Linked DNA regions of Homo sapiens: all the other regions are linked to region 5. Evidence: promoter capture Hi-C in 16 types of primary human blood cells and fetal thymus (Javierre and others, 2016). All regions are on one chromosome and are shown on one strand. Each heading gives the region's core, a stretch centred on a gene start or on the middle of the fragment in contact. The rest is flanking DNA. Distances are from core to core; before and after follow the strand shown.

Evidence for each region. Contacts are between HindIII fragments. The CHiCAGO score rates a contact against its expected background, and 5 or more counts as called.
Region 1: a fragment that was not itself captured here is called in contact with the fragment with the promoter of SNAI2 in region 5 in 1 of 17 cell types (endothelial precursors); the score reaches 9.1 in endothelial precursors.
Region 2: a contact is called between the fragment with the promoter of UBE2V2 here and the fragment with the promoter of SNAI2 in region 5, in 2 of 17 cell types (endothelial precursors and total CD8 T cells). The highest score is 6.3, in endothelial precursors.
Region 3: a fragment that was not itself captured here is called in contact with the fragment with the promoter of SNAI2 in region 5 in 1 of 17 cell types (endothelial precursors); the score reaches 6.1 in endothelial precursors.
Region 4: a fragment that was not itself captured here is called in contact with the fragment with the promoter of SNAI2 in region 5 in 1 of 17 cell types (endothelial precursors); the score reaches 6.0 in endothelial precursors.
Region 6: a contact is called between a fragment that was not itself captured here and the fragment with the promoter of SNAI2 in region 5, in 2 of 17 cell types (M2 macrophages and endothelial precursors). The highest score is 7.0, in M2 macrophages.
Region 7: a fragment that was not itself captured here is called in contact with the fragment with the promoter of SNAI2 in region 5 in 3 of 17 cell types (endothelial precursors, M1 macrophages and monocytes); the score reaches 11.1 in endothelial precursors.

Annotation. Positions count from the first base shown.
Region 1 is chr8:48,188,759-48,192,436 of GRCh38, forward strand. It overlaps the pseudogene LOC100287157. Among named protein-coding and RNA genes, the nearest start is that of UBE2V2, 180 kb to the left of the region's middle. The HindIII fragment of the contact is 6,922 bases long and covers 1-3,678 here.
Region 2 is chr8:48,006,633-48,010,212 of GRCh38, forward strand. UBE2V2 (ubiquitin conjugating enzyme E2 V2) reads left to right here and starts at 1,799. Exons shown (of 4, transcript NM_003350.3): 1 at 1,799-1,838. The coding sequence starts at 1,823. RefSeq lists silencers at 1,505-1,764, 1,995-2,194. The HindIII fragment of the contact is 2,629 bases long and covers 1-2,576 here.
Region 3 is chr8:48,212,586-48,216,268 of GRCh38, forward strand. No RefSeq gene overlaps it. Among named protein-coding and RNA genes, the nearest start is that of UBE2V2, 210 kb to the left of the region's middle. The HindIII fragment of the contact is 2,325 bases long and covers 754-3,078 here.
Region 4 is chr8:48,139,313-48,142,821 of GRCh38, forward strand. No RefSeq gene overlaps it. Among named protein-coding and RNA genes, the nearest start is that of UBE2V2, 130 kb to the left of the region's middle. The HindIII fragment of the contact is 4,612 bases long and covers 1-3,509 here.
Region 5 is chr8:48,919,854-48,923,424 of GRCh38, forward strand. SNAI2 (snail family transcriptional repressor 2) reads right to left here and starts at 1,576. Exons shown (of 3, transcript NM_003068.5): 1 at 1,334-1,576; 2 at 43-588. The coding sequence starts at 1,412. It overlaps LOC107986942 (a long non-coding RNA gene), which reads left to right and starts at 1,704. Exons shown (of 4, transcript XR_001745895.3): 1 at 1,704-2,348; 2 at 2,837-2,911. RefSeq lists an enhancer at 1,687-1,766. The HindIII fragment of the contact is 2,868 bases long and covers 318-3,185 here.
Region 6 is chr8:48,100,126-48,103,860 of GRCh38, forward strand. LOC107986941 (a long non-coding RNA gene) reads left to right here and starts at 1,122. Exons shown (of 3, transcript XR_007060907.1): 1 at 1,122-1,212; 2 at 1,324-1,365. The HindIII fragment of the contact is 817 bases long and covers 1,554-2,370 here.
Region 7 is chr8:48,282,293-48,285,816 of GRCh38, forward strand. No RefSeq gene overlaps it. Among named protein-coding and RNA genes, the nearest start is that of LINC02947, 230 kb to the right of the region's middle. The HindIII fragment of the contact is 770 bases long and covers 993-1,762 here.

The DNA.
Region 1 (3,678 bases), core at 131-2,630, 730 kb before region 5:
AACAAGAAAGAAGATAACAAGGTCAATAATGTAGGAATGAGTGGCGCAGTAGTCTTAAAAACAACCAAGAAGTCACATAGTTATCTGCAAAGAAAAAATAAAAAAGATCAACATGTAGTTAAACTCTTTGGAAACATTGCTTTAAATGAGACCTAAGTGGGCTTAGGAATCAGACATGAAATACTGCGGGAAGAATGTGAAGAGATCAGGGATTGGCATTTTTGATTACAAGAAATAAAGGTACATTACCAGATTTCTCCTGCCATACATGGTTTGAAAGCACATTTTAGATACAGCAAGACCAGTTTCCAATGACTAAATCTACTTAGGTCTAAGGCATGGTGAAATCTTCTCAACTGCAACCCTAGGGGGATGTCCCAGGAATGCATTGCTTTTCTTTCCCTTTGGAGTCCCAGCACCATGTCTTGGCACAGGAAACCCCTGGCCCTCTGGACTGGCTCCTGACCATGCAATGCTGTGCATCTCTGTGGCTCTGTCCCTTCCCCCATTTCCCCTTAACCTATGGAGCTTGGTGTCTGTGTTCTGTGGCCAAGTGTGGCTCAACTCTTCCCCAGGGTGTGGACTATTCCTGATTTAATAGTGGGTCCTTAGAGCAGCTCAGCTTGGCTTGTTTGTCCTGCCTGAAATGACGCTCAGCACACAGTGGGCTCTACTGCAGGGTGCTGGGGTGCTCTGTGGCTCTAAGCGATACTTCACACCACCATAAACACCATCCTCCCATGTAAAGTTCAGTTGGAGTCTTTGGTTGCCAGGCAATGCTATTTAATGAGGGTAAAGAGTGCTTGAACACATCTACAACTTGGCAGCCCTTCTACTTCTTATAAGCTACCATATGCATTGGAGACAAAAGTCTTCCATAGGCTACTTTTTAATGGGACAAGTTTACTTAAGAGCTGAGAGGAGATGGTGCCAGTAGTCTTGTTTTGTTCCTGTCCAATATTAGCCTTGTCAAAAGTCTTATAGAGTTTCCTGGGTATTTCTTTATTACATTCCATGTAAAGCTCTCTTGGGGAGCCAAGAATTTTGGCTGTAGTATATATAGAGGGCTCATAATATGGGCGTGTGTGCAAGTGTGTTTGTTTTTGAGTTTTAGAGGTAGCCCTATAAAAAGGCAATGCAATAATGATGAAGTTCTTGCTATTTCCTTCTTACTGTTGATGAAATTCATCAACCTCCTTGCTGATGGAAGTGCAGTCTCTTGCTAAAGTCTGGATGTCCTGTTAGATTTGCATTAATAGAACAACGAAACACATGTTACACTCAATACTATTTTAATTAAAATTAATACATGCCTTTTAGTTAGAGTGGGTAATATACGTTTGAACTGGGTTAAAAATTATTTTTCTCATGGTACATTTTGGAAGGAACTATGTCTTTTAAATGAATGCCTATCAGCTGGCCATCTCTTCCACGAATTCCTGAAAGGTGCTGGGAGGTTATGCAGGGGTCTAACTTTTTGAGCACTCTTTATAAAAGGCTACATAGGTTTGCTTCTCTCTGGCTGAGGACCCGCACTGGCTCTCTGGAAGCATGATGAATGCAGTGATTCCTCCTAGTTTGGGCCCTGGGACCTACCACTTCACCCAGGTCTTCAACTGGTCTTGGTTTGTTTTCCGTTTATCATCTGTATGACTGGATCTGAGTGTATATGCTAATGACATGATCTGTAGTATTGTTCAGGTCTGTTGAGATACTAGGTGACGTTTCAACATGGAAACATGTCTGAGACAGACCACATGTGAGTGAAAGGAAAGTCCAAGAGCCACTCTCAGAAGCAGGGGCTCAGAAGCTCAAGGAGGCTTGCCTGGGTCTGAAGATGTCTGCAAGGAGCAAGTGCTGAATATCTGGATCGGAGAAGAACTACGCTCTTCCAGGGTAGTGGGTCAAAACTAGTTTTAGCCCTATTTCCTTTTCATTCATTCATTCAGCCAATATTTATTGGCTGTGTACTTGAGTACTCTGTGCCAGGCATGCTATTTCTTTGGGTACTGGGCCGTGAATATGAATGGAACGAAATCTTCTCTTTCCCTAAAGACACTGCCTATTGATGGGGAAGGCAGAGGCATGCAAACAGTTTTAGTCCTTCAATCATGCAATACATATTTGCTGTTGCCTGTTATATACCAAGCACTGTTCTAGGTGTGTTGAGGGTACAGCAGAGAACAAAATAGGCAATTCTTATTCTTGCCTTTATGAAACTTATTTTCTAGTCAATAATGACAATTTGATGCCACCAGACCCTGCCAGGCTGCCTGCTTCTGTCAGGAAAGGTTTCACAGAGGAGGAAGCAGCTCAACTATAATGCAGGTGATTAGTAGGTCTACTTTCTGTCTCTGTGGAATTGCCTATGAATGGGCATTTCATATAGATAGAATCATATACTATGACATCTTTTGTGGCTGGCTTCTTTAATGGAGCACGGTGTGTTTGAGGGTCATCCACAGTGTGGTATGCATCAGTACTTCATTTTTAAAAATCACCTGGCCAGGCACAATGGCTTGTGCCTGTGACCCCAACACTTTGGGAGCCGGAGGTGGGCGGATCACTTGAGGCCAGGAGTTCAAGACCAGCCTGGCCAACATGGTGAAACCCTGTCTCCACTGAAAACACACAAAAATTAGCTGGGCATAGTGGCACACACCTGTAATCCCAGCTACTTGGGAGGCTGAGGCAGGAGGATCATTTGAATCTGGGAGGCAGAGGTGGCAATGAGCCGAGATCGTGCAGTGCCACTGTACTCCAGCCTAGGTGGCAGAATGAGACTGTCTCAAAAAAAAAAAAAATCACTGAATAATATTGTATTTTTTTTTCGAGACAGAGTCTTGCTGTGTCGCTCAGGTTGGAGTGATGTGGTATGATCTCGGCTCACTGCAACCTCTGCCTCCCACGTTCAAGCAATTCTCCTGCCTCAGCCTCCTGAGTAGCTGGGACTACAGCCACGCACCACCATGCCTGACTAATATTTGTATTTTTAGTAGAGACGGGGTTTCACCACGTTGGCCAGGCTGATTTTGAACTCCTGGCCTCAAGTGATCCGCCGACCTTGGCCTCCCAAAGTGCTGGGATTACAGACGTGAGCCACTGCGCCCAGCCTCCCAAGCCTTTTTTATAAGAGCACTAATTCTATTCATGAGGACTTCACTCTCATGACTTAATCACCTCTTTTTAAAAAATTTATCAAAAAACAAAACCAAATAGGAGTTTACTGAAAGCACGTACATTTTGGTAGCTCTGATTAGAAGAAATTAACTTAGAAATACCATTACTCAGGAAAACAATATGTACAAAATCTCAGGAAAGGGAGAATAAGGCAACTTGCAAAGAATTCAACTTGAACAGGCCTGAATTACTACAAATGTCATGCGGCAAAATCATACAAAACACAACAGAGAGGCATTCATGAGAAAACTGTGTGCTTCAGGCCTGGGAGTGAGCACTCTAGTTTCCAGTTTCTTGGAGAACAGCCCATGATTCTCTGGGGCAGAGAGGCTGGCTGGAGCATGATGGTCTCACTGCCAACTGCGCGGAACTAACCCACGCCCTGTGTACAGGCTAAACATGTGGAAGGAGGCCACCAGATGAGTCACCCCCATGAATCCTGGAAGAGAGGAGTGCTCTCTGCAGAGTGTACAGACCTAGCAGGGACCGCTGGACCAC
Region 2 (3,580 bases), core at 549-3,048, 910 kb before region 5:
AACATATGCAAATCAATAAATGTAATCCATCACATAAACAGAACCAATGACAAAAACCACATGATTATCTCAATAGATGCAGAAAAGGCTTCGACAAAATTCAACAGCCCTTCATGCTAAAAACTCTCAATAAACTAGGCATTGATGGAATGTATCTCAAAATAATAAGAGCTATTTACGACAAACCCACAGCCAATATCATACTGAATGGGCGAAAACTGGAATGAAGGATTCTTTTTATTTTTTATTTTTTTTTATTTTGAGATGGAGTCTCGCTCTGTCCCCTAGGCTGGGGTGGAGTGCAGTGTCGCCATCTCGGTTCACTGCAAGCTCCAACTCCCGGGTTCACGCCATTCTCCTGCCTCAGCCTCCCGAGTAGCTGGGACTACAGGGGCCTGCCACCATGCCTGGCTAATTTTTTGTATTTTTTTTTTTTTAGTAGAGACAGGGTTTCACTGTGTTAGCCAAGATGGTCTTGATCTTCTGACCTCGTGATCCGCCCGCCTCCGCCTCCCAAAGTGCTGGGATCCATGCCCGGCCAAAAGCATTCCCTTTGAAAGCCGGCACAAGACAAAGATGCCCTCTCTCACCACTCCTATTCAACATAGTATTGGAAGTTCTGGCCAGGGCAATCAGGCAAGAGAAAGAAATAAAGGGTATTCAATTAGGAAAAGAGGAAGTCAAATTGTCTCTGTTTGCAGATGACATGATTGTATATTTAGAAAACCCCATAGTCTCAGCCCCAAATCTTCTTAAGCTGACAAGCAACTTCAGCAAAGTCTCAGGATACAAAATCAATGTGCAAAAATCACAAGCATTCCTATACACTAATAACAGACAAACAGAGAGCCAAATCATGAGTGAACTCCCATTCACAATTGCTACAAAGAGAATAAAAATACCTAGGAATACAACCTACAAGGGATGTGAAAAATCTTTTTTTTTTTTTTTTTTCAGTTTTATGTAGAGACTAGGTATCACTATGTTGTCCAAGCTGGTCTCAAAGTCTTGGGTTCAAGCCATCCTCCTGCCTCAGCCTCCCAAAGTGTTAGGATTACAGAAGTGAGCTTCGGCGCCCAGCCTGTATTACTTTCCTTTTTCTTTCTTTCTTTTTTTTTTTTGAAATGGAGTCTCCCTCTGTTGCCCAGGCTGGAGTGCAGCGATTTCTGCTCACTGCAGCCTCACCTCTTGGGCTCACGTGACCCTCCCACCTCAGCATCCCTAGCTGTTCAAATTTATTGTCCAACTCTTTTGAATCGTTTATCAACGCAAATCTGTCAATGCCCACTTATTTTTATTTATTTTTTTGAGGCGGAGTCTCGCTCTGTTGTCCAGGCTGGAGTGCAGTGGCGCAATCGCGGCTCATTGCCCCTCCGCCTCCCCGGTTCAAACGATTCTCGTGCCTCAGCCTCCCAAATAGCTGGGATTACAGGCGCGCGCCACCACGTCCGGCTAATTTTTGTATTTTTAGTAGAGACGGGGTTTCGCCATGTTGGCCAGGCTGGTTTCGAACTCCTGACCTCGGGTGATCCGATCGCCTCGGCCTCCCAAAGTGCTGGGATTACAGACGTGAGCCACCGCGCCCGGCCCTCATGAACTTATTCTTTAGCGTTTCATTTTGAGAGCGGGATTCACAAGGGAATTGCGGAAACAGCAGCGAGGCCCCGCGACCCCTCGGCCCACGTGCGCGCTGTCCCTCGGGTCGCCCCGCGCCCGCCGGGGGCGGAGTCCGCTGTGACGCGTGCAGGGCGGCGCGCTCCCGGAAGTGACGCGCGACGGTTCGTGCGTGCGTGCGGGCGGCTGCGTCGGGCTGCAGGAGAAGATGGCGGTCTCCACAGGTCGGTTCCCGGGCCGGGCTGCGTGATTTTCCGCTCCGACCCGGCTCTGCCCCTCCGTCTGCTGCTGGCGCCCGAGCGCTGACCGTGCGGGAGAAGCCCGAGTGCGCTGTCTCGAATGCCGCGCTCTCCGCAGAGCGTAGCCTGGGACCGGGTGGGACCGGCGCCGAGGCCCCGGCGGCCGTCGGGTTGGCGGGTCGTGCTCGCGCGTCGGCCGCGCGCCGGCGGGCTGGGGGCGGGGTGGCTCCCGCGCGGGCGCCCCCGTAGGTTCCGGCGGGCGCGGGTCCGAGTTGTAGGCTGAAGGCTCTACGGGAGGGAGGCGAGGAGGCCCAAGGTGGGCGGGTGTCAACCTCCGGCACCGAAGATGGGTCAGGCCAACCGGCACCGAAGATGGGTCAGGCCAAGAGGTGTCCTGGATCAGAGTAGGGGTCCCATTCCTTTGGACTCTCCTTGACATGGGTTGGGGAGTAGAGGACGATTGCTCCTTAAAATAAGAGCGAGAGGATCTTTCTTACCTGACTGAATACGTGTGATCTTTTTATTATTTATGAGGAAAACTGCAGTGCAAACAAAATAAAAGACCAGAGCAAGATGAAAGCTAATTGAAGAACAAGTGGTTTCTTAGATAAGCTGTTCAACTCCTCTTTCCTACTGAATACAATGTTTGGTTTCCTGTGAGCACACAAGTATTAACGTTGAGGTTTTAGACATTAGACCATTTCAGAAATGTTAAAAACGTTAAGCTTTAGTTTACATTTAAAAATGTTAACCCGTGTGATCTGCCTTTTTCTTTTCTTTTCTTTTTTTTTTTTTTTTTGAGTCAGAGGCTCACCCTGTTGCCCAGTTGGAATGCAGTGGTGTGATCTCGGCTCACTGCAACCTCCACCTCCCAGGTTCAAGTGATTCTCCTGCCTCAGCCTCCCAAGTAGCTGGGATTACAGGCGCGTGCCACCAGGCCCGGCTAATTTTTGTATTTTTAGTAGAGACGGGGTTTTGTCATGTTGGCCAGACTGGTCTCGAACTCCTGACCTCAGGTGATCCGCCCACTTCGGCCTCCCAGAGTGCTGGAATTACAGGTGTGAGCCACCGCGCTCGGCCTGATCTGCCTTTTCCTAGTCTTCGTTGAAACAAGAGTATAGAGCAGTGTGATTTAATAGTTTATGCCATCATTGCATAATAAAATGAATTTTCAAATCTATATGTACTGAAATGGAAGGCTTTGAATATATGTTGTAATTGTTGCTTTAGAGTAATACCTCAGGATACATTCTGCATACATTTTAATTAAGTGGTGTCTTTTACATCTTTATTACATATAGGTGTCATAGGTTTTAAGATCTTTAGCAGTTCTAGTGTTGGGGTAGTATACATACTTGGGTCAGCTAGCTAGTAAGGCAAGGATTGTTTTAAAAGTGGAATTTTAGTGTTATGACTTTACTGTGCTTGCTGAAATCTAATCTGTGCTCGTTAACGGGGCCATATCTTTATAACAGTTGTGCTTAGGACCTCTTATAGATTTTTGAAAATTTAGTAATAAAATAATGCATTTTAATTTAATACTTTTCATTTTCCTTTTGTGGGTTGCATTATTAAACACAATTTTTTCATAACACTATACATGAGTGTATGTTAATATTTTGAAAAGACCAAAGGTTAGATGATATTAATGGCAAATACTTTTTGTTAATCACTTTTAGTTGTTTTGGAAGTTGAATATAAATTATAAAGATTACTGATAAATTATT
Region 3 (3,683 bases), core at 666-3,165, 710 kb before region 5:
CTTTAGTACCCTCAAAAGGTCACATCAGCTTACCAGCAGTGGATCCGAACCAAGATGAAATCTCTGAATTACCAGAAAACAAATTCAGAAGGCCGATTATTAAGGCTAATCAGGGAGGACCAGAGAAAGGTGAACTCCAACTTAAAGAAATAAAAAACATGATACAGGATATGAAAGGAAAAATCTTCAGAGAAATGGATAGCATAGATAAAAACAATCATAACTTCTGGAAATCAAGGACACACTTAGAGAAATGCAAAACGCACTGGAGAGTTTCAGCAATAGAATCAAACAAGCAGAAGAAAGAATTACAGAGCTCAAAGACAAGGCTTTCAAATTAACCCAATCCTTCAAAGACAAAGAAAAAATAATTTTAAAAAATGATCAAATTAACAACTTACATTTATACCTTAAGGAACTAGAAAAAGAAGAACAAACTAAGTCTAAAACTAGCATAACTAGGGAAAAAGAAAGATTAGAGCAGAGAGAAATAAAACAAAGAATAGAAAAACAATAGAGAAAATTAATGAAACCAAAGTAATTTAGTTCTTAAAAAGATCAAGAAAATTGATAAACCTTTAGCAATACTGACTAAGAAAAAAAGAAGACTTAAATAACCAAAACTAGAAATGAAAGAGAGGACATTACAACTGATTTACAGAAATAAGAAGGATTATTAAGAAGTATTATAAACAATTGTATGACAACAAATTTGGTAACCTAAATGAAATAGACAAATTTCTAGATACACAAAGCTTACTAAGACTGAATCACTAATAAACAGAAAATTTGAGTAGACCTATAATTAGCAAGAAGATTTAATCAGTAATCAAAAATCTTCCAACAAATAAAAGTCCAGGATCAGATGTTGGTATGGTATAAATGTATCCCCCCCCAAATTCATGTATTGGAAACTTAATTCCCAGTGCCACAGTGTTGGGAGGTGGGGCCTTTTGTGATATGTTTCAGTCATGATGGTTCTGCCCTCATGAATAGATTAATGCTATTATAAAGGGCCTTGATGGAGGGAGTTAATCTCTTTTGGCCCTTTTGCCTTCTGTCATATAAAGATACACAAGTTTCCTCCCTTCTTGAGGATGCAGCATTCAAAACACCATCTTGGAAGCAGAGACTGGACCCTCACCAGACACCAGACTTGCTGGCACCTTGAATTTGAACTTCCTAGTCTCCAAAACTGTGAGAAATAAATTTATCTTCTGTATAAATGACCCAGTTTCAGATATTTTGCTATAGCAGCACAAATGGATGAATACAGATATCTTAATTGATGAGTTCTACCAAACACTTAAAGAACTAGCACCAATATTTATCAAATGCTTCCAAAAAAAATGAAGAGAAGGGAACACTTCCTGACTCATTCTATGAGGCCAGCACTATATTGACACCAAAGCCAGACAAAGACAGTACAAGAAAACCATAGACCAATATCCTTTATGAATACCAATACAAAAATCCTCAAAAAAATTAGCAAACTGGATTCAGCAACATATTGAAAGGATTATACATCATGACCAAATGAGATTGATTCTTGGAATACAAGGATGGTTCTACACATAAAAATCAATGCAATATACCACATTAACACAATAAAGGGAAAATCCATGATCATCTCAACTGATGCAGAAAAAGTATTTGAGAAAATCCAATACCTTTTCATGATAAGAACGCCCAGCAAACTGGGAATAGAAACTACCTCAATATAATAAAGCTCTTATATGAGAAATCCACAGCTATCACTATACTCAATAGCTATACTATACTCAAAAGACTAAAAGCAATTCCCCTAAGATCAGAAATAAGACAAGGGTGCCTGCTTTTGTTACTTGTGTTCAACATAATATTGGAAATTCTAGCTGAAGCAATTAGGCAAGAAAAAGAAATAAGAGGCATACAAATTAGAAAGGAATAAGTAAAATTATTTCTGTTTGCAGATGACACAATCCTATATTTAGAAAATTGTAGCAATTCTGCACCAACTCCCCCCTGGCCCCACAACAACAAACAAAGATAAACCAAAGCAAACTGTTAGAACTAATAAATGAATTCAGAGGCTGGATACAAACTCAACATGCAAAAAGCAGTTGCATTTCTCTATAGTGACAATGAAAAATCTGAAGTGGGAATTTAGAAAACAGGAGGCTAAATAATTGTACATGGAAAACTACGAAGCATCGCTGAATGAAATTAAATAAAGTATAAAAAATGGAAAGACATCCCAGGTTCATTGATAGGAAGACTTAATATTGTTAAGATGTCAGTTCTACTCAAAGCAATCCACAGAATCAATGCAATTCCTATCAAAGTTCCAATGAGTTTTTTGCCAAAATGTAAAAATTCATCCCAAAATTCATGTGTAATATTAAGGGTCCCAAATAGTGGAAACAGTATTGAAAAAGAACAAAGTTGGAGGACACTAACTTCCTGATTTCAAAACTTGCTGTAAAGTTTCAGTAATCAAAACAGTGGTTCTGGCCAGGTGCGGTGGCTCACACCTGTAATCCCAGCACTTTGGGAGGCAAAGTTGGGTGGATTGCTTGAGGCCAGGAGTTTGAGATTAGCCTGGCCAACATGATAAAATGCTATCTTTACCAAAAATACAAAAATTAGCTGGGCGTGATGGCACGTGCCTGTAATCCCAGCTACTTGAGATGCTGAGGTGGGAGGATCGCTTGAACCCAGGAGGCGGAGGTCACAATGAGTCGAGATCAAGACTGTACTCCAGCCTGGGTGACAGAATGAGACTTCATCTCCAAAACAAAAAACAAACAAACAAAAAAACAACCAGTTGATTCTAGCATAAAGACAGACATAGGCCAATGGAATAGAATAGAGTGCCCAGAAATAAACCTTTGCATACATGGTCAATTGATTTTTGAAAAGAGTGACCATTCAATGGAGAAAGGATAGTCTTTTCAATAAATGACATTCGGAAACTGAATATCCACATACAAATGAATGAATTTTGATTCTTACTCTATACTATATTACAAAAATGGATCAAATACCTAAATGTAAAACCTAAACTTATAAAATTCCTAGGTGAAAACATAGAGAAAAAGCTTCATGACACAGGATGTGGGAATGATTTCTTGGATATGACACAAGCGTTTTACTACTGACAAAAGAAAAAATAAATAAATTGGACTTTATCAAAATCAAGAACTTTGTGTATCAAAGGACACTGTCAACAGAGTGAAAAGGCATCATACAGAATGTGAGAAACATTTGCATATCATTGATCTGGTAAGGGATTAATATTTGGTATGCATAAAGAAATCCTAAAACTCAGCGACAGAAAAAACAAAAAACCTAATTCAGAAATGAGCAAAGGACTTGAATAGATATTTTCCCCAAGAAGATATACAGATGGCCAATAAGTACATGAAAAGGTGCTCAACATTACTAATTAAAATATGCAAATTGAAAGCATGAGATACCACTTCATACCCATTAGGATTGCTATGAAAAAGACAACCGAGAAAATTATTGGCAAGGATATGGAGAAATTGGCACATTTCTGCATTGTTGGCAGGGATGTGCCACCTCTGTGGAAAACAATGTATGGTGATTCTTAAAAAGAATTAAATCTAGAATTACTATACGGTCCAGCAGTTCCACCTCTGGATATGTATACCCAAAAGAACTGAAAGTAGGGATTTAAA
Region 4 (3,509 bases), core at 729-3,228, 780 kb before region 5:
TTTCTATTGACCAAAATATTTTCAAATTGATGTGGCCTAAAGGCTACCACATCACATCACCTGTCCTTGGATATAGAGAAGTTGGGGCCTGGGAGAGTGTGTAATGAGTAGTAGAAAAAGGATGAACTATCTAGTAAATGCCTTTGGGAAGTTGCCTCCCCAGTGGAGGGAAAAAGAGTCCTGTCTTTCACCAAATACACAAGAAAATTCTAGAGGAAATACATTCCGAAAATGGAAAACCTAAACCTTGAAAAAGTGCTATAAGAAAATATAAGGGGATATTTTCATGACTTTGGGGTTACAAAGGGTTTACTAGGCAAGACTCAAAATCCAATAACCATAGAGTAAATGATAGACAGATTTGACCAACAAAACCAAAACAAAATAGAAACCCCAGCCACTTCTTTTTTTTAATTTTTAAATTTTTAGTAAGGATCTGTCACTTTTATATAAAGGTATAATCTACAAGAACCTATATTTAATCATTCCCCTCAAACATCTACCCAGAAATAGATAATGAAACTAGAAAAGATGCTTTGGGGGAAAACTTGATTTTGGAATTGTACCAATAGATGTGAATTCCAGGTGAGGTTTCAGTTACTCACTGGGTGATCTTGAGCAGGTAACCTCTTTTAATGCCTAAGATTTTTACTTTAAAAAAATTAGAAATAATAATACCTATGTCATAGAGATGCTATAGGTATTAATGAAATATATGTAAGAGACAACATATGCATATTGTTGGTGTAAATGTCAGTTTCCCTTCTCTTTCCCTCCTTGAACCAAACCACTTCTGATTAGTGAATGACACCATAAGCAAAGTTTAAACACAAGCTAAAGAGCCAGAGAAAATATCTGCCACACATGTAACAGAAAAAAGGCCATAGCTGTAATAGTTGAAGAGTGCACACCAGTCAATGAAAGAAGAAGATAAATGATAGAAGAGGCAGTAAAGTCAAGCCCAAGAGGGAAAAAAGAAAAAAAACCCTACTAATGACCAATCAATACTGCAAAGATGTTCATCCTCACTAAAAATGAGGGGAATGTACATACAAACATCAGTGAGATGTCATGGTTCATTGGTGAGATTGGACAACGTTCAGGAGGCTGAGACTGTATCTGAGGAGGTGGGGCCCAGGAAAAGATGCCCTCTCACCCCCCAGTGCATTCGAGTGCAGCTGTTTCGGTGCCATTTTAGCAATGGCCATCAAAATTTGGCAGGATCTGGAAAAGTTAAAAATGCACATTTTTGACCCAGTATTTCTATTTTTGGAATATGTCTTATATGAATACTTGCCTATAAACACAAAATGAATAAACAATAACATATATCTTGCATTATTACATAGTGAAAATTGGATGCAACCTTCGTGCCCATTAAGGGGGGAATAGTAAACATTTTTGGTACATATATAGATCTTGTGAAATATTATGGGGTATTACAAAACACGAGTTAGATATATAGATACATACACTTATTCTCCAATATATATTTGGTGAAATTCTTGTTTATCTCAAAAGCAGCAAGAAAAAAATCTCTATGCACAAGGGATCTAGCAGACAACAGGCACTCAAAATGTGCTTGTTGAATGAAATCTATGTAAACACATAGAAAAAGTTCTGGAAGGGCATGCAGCCAAGTGTCCTCAGCAGTTACCCAGAGGGAAGGGACAGGATTTGGGAGAGAGGGAAGAGGACTTGTACATCATGCGTTTCTGTATTGTTTGCATTTTAATTTTGTGACAGTTTTAAGGAAGTTGTGCCCTTCCAAAAGTAGGTGACTTCACTGTCATTTATACAGTAAAGATGGTCATGGTGCCAGCGATTTTAGAGCAAATGTTATTTCCCTTCCTGGTGTTTTGGAAAGAAGCCTCGGAGCTGGAAGGATGGGGAATGCTGGCTACAGCTGAACACCCAGGAAGGATGCGGTCTCCCTGAGTCATACCTACTCACTCATCTCTTCACTCCACAAACAACAACAATCTGGCTTTTGCGCCCACCGTCCCCAAAATGGTTTTGCTCAGATTACCAAAAACTTCTTGGCTACCAAGTCAAATGAGCATGTTTTAGTTCTCATATCACTTGACCACTCCTCTTTGCAATATTCTCTTAACTTTCATAAAATCATGCACTTCTGGTGTTTTCTTCATCTGGGCTACTTTTTCTCAGTCTCTTAGCAGTTTCTCTCTCCATGCTTCTCAGATGTTAGTGCTCTTTAGGGTTTGTCTCCAGGTGTCTTCTCTTCCTTTTCTAGGTTCTCTGTGGTCTTCCTGCATGACCCCCACACTCTCAAGGCTGAACTGCAATCTCCAGGCCCTGTTTCTAGGACAGACCCTTCCTCTATGCTCCAGACCTGTGTCTCTGATGGTAACTATGCATCTCTACCTGGGAATGTCCTGAGTGTCTCAAAATCAACATATTCAGAGTCAGACTAATTTCCTCCAAATGCGAATCAGCTGCCTCGCCAGGCCCTGGCTCCATGACTGGCACCACACTGTCCAAACAGAAGCCTGGATGTTGTTCTTGATGCTTCCCTTTCATTAGCTCACTGCCCTCAGTGGGAGGCCAAGCCGCCAATCCTTTACTAATGCCTCATGAACCCAATCCATTCTGTATTCTCCATCCCAAAGCCACTGTCTTTGGTTTGAGTCACATTTCTTGGCCTAGATGAGTGGAACAGTTTTCTGAATGGTCTCTCCCCTCCTGTCTGCTGTGCTGCAGTGTATAGTGCTCCTTCTCACAGTTCATCTGTGGCTGTCCATTAATCTTAGGATACAATGTAAGGTTCTTAAGGATCTGGCATTTACCTCTCATTCCCTCCTGCCTTCTCTGCTAGCCTTGCACACAGAAATACTTGCAGTCCTTCTAATGTGCTGTGTTCTCTTGCCACATTTTATTTAAAGGATATTTACTGAACACTTACTAAGTACCAGGTTGTAATCTACATGCCCCCTTGTCCCTGCCCTCGTGCGGGCATACATTCTAGCAGGGGAGGCAGAAAATAAATGTGCAGGCCAGGTGCAGTGGCTCATGCCTATAATCCCAGCACTTTAGGAAGCCGAGGCGGGCGGATTACCTGAGGTCAGGAGTTTGAGACCAGCCTGGCCAACATGGTGAAACCCTGTCTCTACCAAAAATACAAAAAGTAGCTGGCTGTGGTGGCTCTGGCCTGTAAACCCAGCTACTCGGGAGGCTGAAGCAGAAGAATCGCTTGAACCCAGGAGGCGGAGGTTGCAGTGAGCCAAGATCATGCCATTGCACTACATCCTGGGCGACAGAGTGAGATTCCATCTCAAGAAAAAAAAAAAGCATGCAGATAAATAGGACCTTGTAATGTAATGATAGATGCTGTGGCGTAAAGACGGCAATAAGACAGAAAGTGTGGCATAAAAGCGGTGTGGGAGTGTGGTCCTCTAGCTAGGAGGTCAGGGAGGTCCCTGTGACCAGGTGATGCTTGAACTAAGAGCAGTTTGGCTAAGATTCTGGACAGTGCACTCCACGCAGGAACA
Region 5 (3,571 bases), core at 326-2,825:
TGTATCTCAGAGTAACATTCCTGCCTATGGTTTTTCTCTTACCCGTGTGAGTTCTAATGTGTCCTTGAAGCAACCAGGGTCTGGAAAACGCCTTGCCGCAGATCTTGCAAACACAAGGTAATGTGTGGGTCCGAATATGCATCTTCAGGGCGCCCAGGCTCACATATTCCTTGTCACAGTATTTACAGCTGAAAGATTTTCTAGACTGGGCATCGCAGTGCAGCTGCTTATGTTTGGCCAGCCCAGAAAAAGTTGAATAGGTCTTATTGCATAAATTGCACTGAAACTTTTCAGCTTCAATGGCATGGGGGTCTGAAAGCTTGGACTGTAGTCTTTCCTCTTCATCACTAATGGGGCTTTCTGAGCCACTGTGGTCCTTGGAGGAGGTGTCAGATGGAGGAGGGGGACTCACTCGCCCCAAAGATGAGGAGTATCCGGAAAGAGGAGAGAGGCCATTGGGTAGCTGGGCGTGGAATGGAGCAGCGGTAGTCCACACAGTGATGGGGCTGTATGCTCCTGAGCTGAGGATCTCTGGTTGTGGTATGACAGGCATGGAGTAACTCTCATAGAGATACGGGGAAATAATCACTGGGAAAGAAAAGGGAGGGAGAGAAGATTAAGGCAAAAATAATTAAAAATAAATCCACACGCAAGTATACACACACTGGAAAGATATTTAGCAACACACACGTGATTTTCTTAGGAAGAAGATAGACCCATTTAGGAGGGCATACACACTGGTAAAATGTTTCATTTCCACCCTGGCACCTACGGAGTTACTGTACTTAATGCACACATAGGCTGACAGCTGCACGGAGCTATAGGTGCTCTGAAGTCAGACAGTGCAGCCAAGCCAGTGCCTTCGCCGTCCCCATTGAGGAAGGAGAGCCTCAACATTATTTTTAAACATACAGAAAAGTTGTTTTCCATGTTACGTATGGGCTATTTAGGTGTATTACGACCGTGAGTACAAAGATATGCCTGCATCAAGCCGCCTTCTAAAGGAAAGGAGACTTAGTGCATGAAAAACGCAGTAATTCAATCCTTATGTTGCTCATCTTTCACATACTCATTATGCATGTATACACAGGCTTTAGCAAACGAAGCTGCGAGATTTGAATGAAATGTTCCTTGTTAGTCAAGAATTTTAAAAGTTTTGAATTAAAACGAACCCTAAATGATCAAAAGAATGTAAGCTCCCTTTCAGGACACTGTTAAAAAGGAAAACAGTTGAATCTTTGGCTCTTTTGTAATGGTATTTGAAGGGTAATACGTAGATTCATATTTGCAAAGCTCTAGATACGTAGTTCTAGATATATTTTTCTCTTTTTACCTGTATGTGTGTCCAGTTCGCTGTAGTTTGGCTTTTTGGAGGCGTTGAAATGCTTCTTGACCAGGAAGGAGCGCGGCATCTTGCCAGCGGGTCTGGCGGGCGCCCGGCGCGGATAACGGTCCGGCGGGAGGACACGGCGGTCCCTACAGCATCGCGGCGGGCCAGGCTCGGGCAGGGGCCGTGCTCAGGTGCGGCAGACGGACGGGCCGGCGCCTCTGAAGTCACCCGGCTCCTTTACGAACTGAGCCCGTTTTGGCTGGGAGGGTTTTTTTTTCCTCTCTTTTGCAAGAAAGATCCAATCACAGCTGAGAGGTTCAGATTTCAGCTCCTCCCTCTGGGACAGCTGTGAACAGAGGAAGAATCTGTTGTCAGACTAAATTATTCTGGTTCAAAATGGGCTGTTTTTTGAGATTTCAGTGGAGAGGAAAAAAAGTGTTTAAGTATTTTCAAGAGAGGTAACCTCGCTCGGTGAGCCCCGCCCGCGATCCACGCTCTCTGGGAGCTAGGAGGGGCGCAGGAGCCGGGGTCTCTGCCCTGCCCGCCTGGCTTCCAGATGTGGTGCAGCGCCAGCGCGCGGGGACACAGTGTCCGCCAGGAGAAGGAAGGGCCGCCCTGCACCACACCAGGCCAGCCTCTGGTGTTAATGAGAGCCTATATTTGGAAGTGGCATCTGGAGAGGTTTGCCTTGCACAAAGACCAAATAATTACCTCTTGGCTTTTGAAAAAGGAAGGGGGAAGCGGGAAGACAAAGGCGCCTGTGAGCGCGGAGGACGCTCTCCTGGGACTCTGGCCTGGAGCGGGACTGCAGCCTTGCGTGCGGCGAGGGCGCTGCGCTACTCAGGGCTTCCGCGAAGCCAGGGGCAGCGCGGCCGCGTGCAAATTAAGTACTCATGTCACCGTGTTAGCTATGGTGGCTTGAAAGAAATGCTTTGTAGCCCTCTAAAGGCAGGCTGATCGGAAGAACTGGAAGATTGCAAAGATAAAAAGGAACTCTGGCAGAGAAGGGGGGCAAGAGGTAACTGTCATTTGGAACCACCGGACATTCTCTCACACTTTTGACAAGAGATCTTATCTTTTCATGTATTACAGTGCATCTTTTTTTTTATGGGAAAAAGGGTTGTATGGGTCTTTAGAGACAATTATTTTTATTTCTAATATTCCCCTGCTTTTATGTGGTGCTATTTTCATCAGTATAAAGCCATTAAAATCCATCTCAGTATCTACCAGTTTCCTGTATAATGCTAAAAAAGAAATTGAAGGATATTATTATGAATATAGATTGATTAAAGTTTTAAGAACCCAGTCTAGTAACTGCAAAAACACCTTTATTTTGTGTATGGTCTTCAATCTAAAAATACTTTCAGGTGGTTTATTTTAAATATAAAATTTCAAGCATATTTTAAAGCATCTCTGTCCATTGCAGACTTTTATCCCTATCTTTTGCTAAAAGAATAAGGAAAGAACAAATTCACATGAAGATCACCCTACTCTTGTTTCTAACAGGTGCTGGAGGAAAAAAGTGAAAAAGAAAATAACAGTGGTGATGTCAAGACTTGTCAGAGAAAAGTGCATTGTCAGGTTGCATAACTTCTTAATCTTGGAATGAGAAAACAAGAGTGTATGTGTGTTTGGAGGGTGAGGTGGGGCACTCACAGATTTCCTAAGCTAATTTCAATGATTATTCTTATTTCTTCCAACAGTCACTAATTTAAATGTCAAACAGAGAAAATAATTCAAAGGAATCCTTATGCTAATGGAACTGTACTTGCAGGAGAGAGGAAAATATGAATACATATTCGATTTCTCCACACACAAACTGGAACCTGGAGTAAAAGCCAGAGGCAGTTTTCTAAGCTTGCTACTCTATGTGAGGGTTTGTTCGGATGTAGGCACCTGGGTTTATGAGAGCAGGAGTCCTCCTTGCTTTTCACTCCATTTCCCACAAAACACACATTTTTGTTACAGATATAGCACAGTTGAGAAAACACATATCGCCATGGCTATTATTTCCTTGTTTCACTCTACACAGTCTATTCACAACAAAGAAGAGTGTTAGACAATGTTTTGGTATTTATTTGCTGGTAGTTATAACACAAGATCATCTACTAAAATGTGTATTCAAAAATCCATTTACAACGTTTAATAATAATTCACTATGCATGAAAAAAGCTTACATTTGGATCACAGAGGCATAATCCAGCCCAGCCCCATCAGCAGGTATCCGAGGGTGCACTGCAC
Region 6 (3,735 bases), core at 712-3,211, 820 kb before region 5:
CCCACTTGGTGCTTTACTCCCCTGTGGCCTAGCTGGTACCTAAGGTGCAAGACAAAATCGCCTTTACTTTTTCCTCTCCTTTCCTCAAGTGGGAGGAGTCTTGCCCCATAGCCACCACAGCTGGGAATGTGCTGAGCCTCAGAGTCTCAGCCAAGGCCCTGATGTGGTACCTAGGTGTTGGTGCTGGTTATTCAGGGCTCAAGGGCTCTTCAGTTAGCAGGTAATGAATCCGCCAGGACTGGGTCCTTCCCTTCAAGGCAGCAGGTTTCCTTTTGGCCCAGGGTGTGTCTAGAAATATCATCTAGGCACTAGGGCCTGGAAAGGGGGCCTTGTGACTCTGCCCATTGCCCTATCCTGCTAGGGCTGAGCCGACATCCAAGATACAAGACAAAGTCCACCCCACTCATCTGTCTTCTCTCCTCAAGCAAACGAAAGGGGTCTTGTTTGGAGCCATGAGCCGTGCAGCCTGGGGTTAAGGGAGGAGTGATGCCAGCACTCCCTTAGCTGCCCTGGCTGGTGTCTCAGTATGTCATGTGCCCCCCCAATCCTCTGGCTCTGGGCACAGTTGAGCACTAGGATTGTCCTAGAAGTTGCAGTCCTTGTGACCTAGAGTGCCTTTCTAGTTGATGTAGGGTGCCAGAGCACTTCAGCTTATGGTGGCAAGGCTTGTAGCAGCTCAGATTCAGATCGCTGGGATGGGCATCTCCACTCTGGCCAGGGCTGATTTAAATGCTCCCTTCCTGGGTGAGCATCAGCTGAGTTTGGTCTGGCTTTCTTTTCTGCTATAACAGGGCAGCATTGAGTTTTAGGCCTCACGATTGCTATGCTCTCCCTCTCCCCAGTGCACAGAGATGCTCTGGGCACCATGCAGCCACTGCCAGGGGTTGGGGAGGGGTGGCATTGGTGATTCAGGACTGTTTTTCCTAACTCCTCAGTGCCTCTTTCAGTGATATGAAGTTACAACCCGGTACTGTGAGTGTCCACCTGATTTTTGGTTCTCATGAAGGTTTTTTTTTTTTTTGTGTGTGTAGATGGTTGTTAAACTGGTGTCCTTGCAGGGGAAGGAAGATTGGTGGAGCCATCTGTTCTACCATCTTACTCTGCCTCCTTGGTTTTTCCAGGACAGACGTTCCTGGTTGGCAATATGCAAAGAAAGGAGTGGAATATTGCTAAAACTGGAGCTGACTGAATTCTGAAATACCAGCTCATCAAGTAAGTTGTCAATTCCCATCCAGCTGAATTGGGAAGTAGTGGAGACACCTAAAACTTAAGCTAAATAAAGAACACCTGAATAACATAGTGCTTTCTATTCTGTTGTTACAGTTAACAGCCTTGATGATTCAGAGAAAAACAGTACTAATCTGGGTGAGTAATGGTGTCACTTGGCAGTGCTCTGGATAAAGTAGTACCTGCAAAAAGCCCATCTGTTTCTTCTGACCTGGTAGTGAAGGCAATAGCTGGAGGTGACCAGACTGACTTGAAAATAAGCAGGCTCAGCAAGGCAGCCATTTGAGGAAATTCACTGGGGCTGATGCAAGACTCAGAGAGAAAGAAGCTTGACATAGCCCATTTTCATGTATTACTTTCCAGAACAGCTTCTTTGCTATTTATAGGCACATGTGTTATCTTGGCCTTCTGGGAGCAAAAATTCCTGTGTTTGACCAGAGCTGTTTTTGCCAGTAGGCAGTTCCTAAGAGAAACAGGGCATTTGTTTGTTTTACTTTTGGTTTTGCTAAATAAAAGCTGAAATTTTGCAAATACCAGACTTGTTTAGTATCAGGCACTTTATAAACGTAAAAATGTGCATACATGTTTTATTGCAATTGCCTTTCATGTGACACAACAGAAATCAGAGCCGACCATAGCATTCAGCGCTGTGTACATGGAGGGAGTCCAGCTTGGGTGAGAGGAGTGTGTGCATAAAAACACAGGTTTCTAGAGAGACTCATCAGAAACCAAATGCATGTCCTCAGAGCATGAAGGTGCTTTTCCTTTTGATTCTCCTGAAGATTCATTTTTTATATCATGCTGTGAACACATAAGTGAAACCTAGGTAGTTCTGAAGCCCTTTGTCTTCCTCTGTTGCTCTTAAAAAAGTAGGTTACCTTGAGTACGACTCCCTTCCCTTGTAGTTCTGAGTCTGTTGGCGGAAGACATGCGGCGAGGTGGAGCCAGCCTGGCTGTGGGAGGCAGGGATGAGGGTTCAGAAACCTGCGAGGGGAGCACGCCCACACTTCCTTTTATGAAATGCTATGTGCCATTTCAATATGTGGCAACCATGTTCAGAGAAACTATGGATAGAGTTTCCTCAAATGATCCTGGCAGTTTTATTTTTATTGATTGACTGATTGATTGATTGACTGAGATGGAAGCTTGCTCTGCCGCCCAGGCTGGAGTGCAGTGGCACCATTTGGCTCACTGCAACCTCCACCTTCTGGTTTCAAGTGATTCTCCTGCCTCAGTCTCCCGAGTAGCTGGGATTACAGGCACGTACCACCACACCTGGCTAATTTTTATATTTTTAGTAGAGACGGGGTTTCACTGTGTTGTCCAGGCTGGTCTAGAACTCCTGACCTCAAGTGATCTGCCTGCCTCAGCCTCCCAAAGTTCTGGGATTACAGGCATGAGCCACCGTGCCTGGCCCCTGGCAGTTTTAAAAAAAGGAAACCCATTGTAAACAGAGACTGATCTTAGATAAGCAAACAGAGAATGTACCAGAGTTACCAGGGACATAAAACTGTTGGTTAACATCAGAATATTGGTTGAGAAAACCAAATGCCAGGAGGGCTGTTGTTTGCTTTCTGATTGAATTTCTAGTATTTCCAGTATTGAATTAGAACCCATATTTTCTCTAGGGCCCTAAATTATTATTTTATCACTTTTGCCACCTTATTTGGTTATGTCTCAACAGGGATTTGACTATAGTCTTTATATCTACAGGGTTTATCTTGTTTTAATATATCGAAGATCATTTAATGAACTATGATAAAATTATAAGAAAATTTGAAATATTGAATTGCTTAGATATCTTGCTATATTCATTTGATAAATTGAATAGAGATATTAGGATTAATATGAAGTTTATAAATATGGCATCTATAAAAATTAAAGTTCTAGGAAGACAGATATCAGAATCATCTTTTTGAGTCAGTCCCTGCAAATAGCCTTATATGATTTCAAGGGCTTGTTTTTATTTGGTAATTTCTGGCTTTTGTGGCAGGAAAAGAGACCTCCGAGAAAAGAGGAAAGAGGCTGGGCACAGTGGCTCATGCCTGTAATCCCAGCACTTTGGGAGGCAGAGGCGGGCAGATCACCTGAGGTCAGGAGTTCAAGACCAGCCTGGCCAACATGGTGAAACCCTGTCTCTACAAAAATACAAAAATCAGCCGGGCATAATGGCAGGTGCCTGTAATCCCAGCTATTCGGGAGGCTGAGGCAGAAGAATTGCTTGAACCTGTGAGATGGAGGTTGCAGTGAGCCGAGATTGTGCCATTGCACTCCAGCCTGGGCAACAGAGCAAGAGTCCATCCAAAATAAAAAAAAAAAAAAAAAAAGGAAAGAAAGAGAAAGCAGAATGGAAAGGGGGATACAGTAACTAAATCTCTATTTCTCCTTGACTTATCAGAGTTGGCAGTTTTCTTAGGGAGCCATATTAGCCATATTTCAATCATTTCAGGATTTGTATGACTTTGCCTATTTTCATGTTTTGCGGGGATTAAGAATAGCACCTTGCGA
Region 7 (3,524 bases), core at 128-2,627, 640 kb before region 5:
GTGAGGGGTGTGCTCTCTCCTCACTCTAAACGCGGTGAAGGCTGTGTCCTTTGACGGCGTCCTGAACATCCGGGCCTGGAGCTTTGGTTATGACTGCGACATGTGCTCTGGCTCTCCTGCCTTTGTGCTCCAGGTGACTTGACCTCAGGTGCCTCCCGATGTGAGCAGCTGAGAACCAGCACGTGACTCACACCCACTTTTGCTTGGCTACCACTCATGCTTCCCACTCCTGGACTTCTCTTCCATACCCACCCATACCCCCAGTTCTCTGTGGACCAGACGCTCATGGGGTGTCTGCTTTGAGCCCCATCCTGCACTGGGCTCCCCAGAGGCAAAGGTAGAGGGACAGAGACAGTGAGGAGGGAGGGGTAAACAATGGTCACTGTGCGGTGCGGTGTGACACTGCGGGAACATGTTCGGAGGTGTTGATGGGCACAGCCTGATTGATCATGGCACTGGAGTAGCGCTCATTACACTGAGAGTCAGGATTCCCAGAGACAGACTGCAGTTCCAGGTCCAGTCTCATACAGCTCTGGCTGAAGATTCAGATCAGCTCGCAGCTACCTGATGGGATTTTAGGTGTTTCAGGATGACTGTGTGTCCTCCTCCAGCCAGAGAGTAGATATCTGAAATTTTGCCATTAGACATTCATTTCTTAGACATCATTCTTTTGGTTCACTCCTTGGTTAAAATAAACATTTATTTAGAGTGGAGCCACCTTAATCTTCAGCTCATTAATCCTGGGGTGTAGGTGTCACATTGCTGTTTAAGAAAGATGTTTGGAGGAGGGGTGGGTGGAGAGAGTGGAGGGAGTAAGCCTGTGCTGACTAGGGGAGGAGGGCAGCTTCTAGCAGAGGCTGACCATCTAGCTGCCTTCACAGGCCTTTGGCAGTGTTGCCTGCTGTGGTATAGGGACAGGCCCGGGCCCGGGCCCCTCACATGCACTGTCTGCTCCCACATTGCCTGGAGTCTGTGGAGAAGTTCACATGACAAGCTTGCAGGGCGAATTGTTTCCTCTTAATTATTTATTGGTGCAAAGCTAGAGAGGCCTGGTGACTGGGGTGGTGTAGGGGAAGGACAGCATTGTCCTCTGAAAGGGCTGTGCAAGGAGATGGCCACTCAGGGGCTGCTATGAGCCTCAGAAACCACCGAATCCATCTCATTTATTGTTTGGATAATAAATTGGAGATGCCGTTGCGGGGAAAGGGGCATTTCCTAAATTCGGGGAGAGATGGTAATGCAACGCTCCTGTCTTCTGGTCCAGGAGCTCACAGTGAGGGAGCAGCGCTCCTGCCCTGAGTTCCTTTCACCAAGCCCTCTGGATTCCCCACATCCTACTCCACAGACAACAGGCAAGGTCGCCGTGCTGGGGCTGAAAGGCGCTCTGCACACCTTCCGCAGCGCCACTGCCTCTTCCTTGCCCTGCTGGAAGAAGAAGCAGGAGGGAATGGGTTTGAGGGAGAAGGATGGAAGCCTATTGTGGAGATACAGAAATTTACTACAATATAAGTTTAGGTCAAAGACTTAGTTCCACGTTGTAGGGTTGGCAGAGTCTGATTTGTGGTTTTGACTCAGTCGTAAGGTAGGGGTGGGCCAGTTAGCAGCTGAACCTGTGAGCTCATGGAGTGAGTGGGCCACACGGGTTCTCCTAGACATCCCAGTGCCAGCAGAGCACAAGGTGTCAAGCAAGTGCTAAGTTCATGAAGTAAATGATGAATGCAAAGTGTGGCATGTTCTGCTTAGTCTCCACTGTGCTGTGGTAAGCTTTGCTGTCGATAGTGGAGTAGAATAGAGTATGGCATGGTGCAGTATGGCCTAATGCAGACAGCATAGTCTACTGTTGAATAGCACAGTGCAGTATGCCACAGTACAGTGTGACTCAGTGCTGTATGGCACAGTGCAGTGTGACACAGTGCTGTATGACAGAGTGATGTATGGCACAGTGCTGTATGACACAGTGCCGTATGACAGAGTGCTGTATGACACAGTCAGCACTGTATGACACAGTGCAGGACAACACAGTATGCTACAGCATAGCACAGTACTGTATGGCAGGGTTAGTATGGTACAGTGCAGGTCAGCATAGTATAGCACAGTCTCGTGTGGCATAGTACAGTATAGTAAGTGTAGTATAGTACAATGTAGTCCAGCATAGTACAGTGTGGTACAGTACAGTACAGTACAGTGCAGTATAGCTAGGTGTAGGGTGGCTGTGCCTTTGAATAGAGAGGGAGGAAACACTTGTTTGACTTTCTTTCTTTCCTTCCTTTCTTTCTTCCTTCCTTCCTTCCTTCCCTCTCTCCCTCCCTCCCTCTTTCTTTCTTTCTTTCTTTCTTTCTTTTTCTTTCTTTCATTCTTCATTTCTTCTTTTTTTCATTTTTAGGATATTTTAATGCTTGCTTTCAAAAAACAGCTTTATTTTGGAAGCATTCCCCTTGAAAATCAGAATGAGACAAGAATGCCCTCTCTTACCACTTCTATTCAGCATAGTAATGGAAGTCCTTGCCAGAGCAATCAGGCAAGAGAAAGAAATAAACAGCATCCACATAGGAAGAGAGGTAGTCAAACTATCCCTTGTTGCAGACAACATGATTCTATATCCAGAAAACCCCATAGTCTCTGCCTAAAAGCTCCTTGAGCTGATAACCAACTTCAACAAAGTTTCAGGATACAAAATCAATGTTCAAAAATCACTAACATTTCTATACACCAACAACAGTCATGCTGAGAGCCAAATCAGGCATGCAATCCCATTCACAATTGCCACAAAAAGAACAAAACACCTAGGAATACAGGTATCCAGGGAGGGGAGAGATCTCTACAATGGGAATTATAAAACACTGCTCAAAGAAATCAGAGATGGCACAAACAAATGGAAAAACACTCCATGGTCATGGGCAGGGAGAATCAGTATTGTGAAAATGGCCATACTGCCCACAGCAATTTACATTCAATGGTATTCCTATCAAACTGCCAAAGACATTCTTCATAGAACAGAAAAAACCATTTTAAAATTCATATGGAACCAAAGAAGGAGCCCGAATAGCCAAGGCAATCTTAAGCAAAAAGAACAAACCTGGAGAAGTCATGTTGCCTGACTTCAAACTGTACTTTAAGGCTACAATAACCAAAACAGCATGACACTTGTACAAAAATAGACACATAGACCAATGTAACAGAATAGAGAGTCCAGAAATAAGGCCGCACACCTACAACCATCTGATCTTTGACAAAGCTGACAAAAACAATCAATGGGGAAAAAGATTCCCTGTTCAATAAATGGTGCTGGGATAACCGGCTAGCTACATGCAGAATGCTGAAACGGGACCCCTTCCCTATACCACATACAAAAATCAACTCAAGATGGATTAAAGACCTAAATGTAAAACCTAACACTCTAAAAATTCTGAAAGATAACTTAGGGAATACCATTTGGGCATAGGAACTGCCAAAGATTTCATGACGGAAATGCCAAAAGCAATTGCAACAAAAGCAAAAATTGACAAATGGGATCTAATTAAACT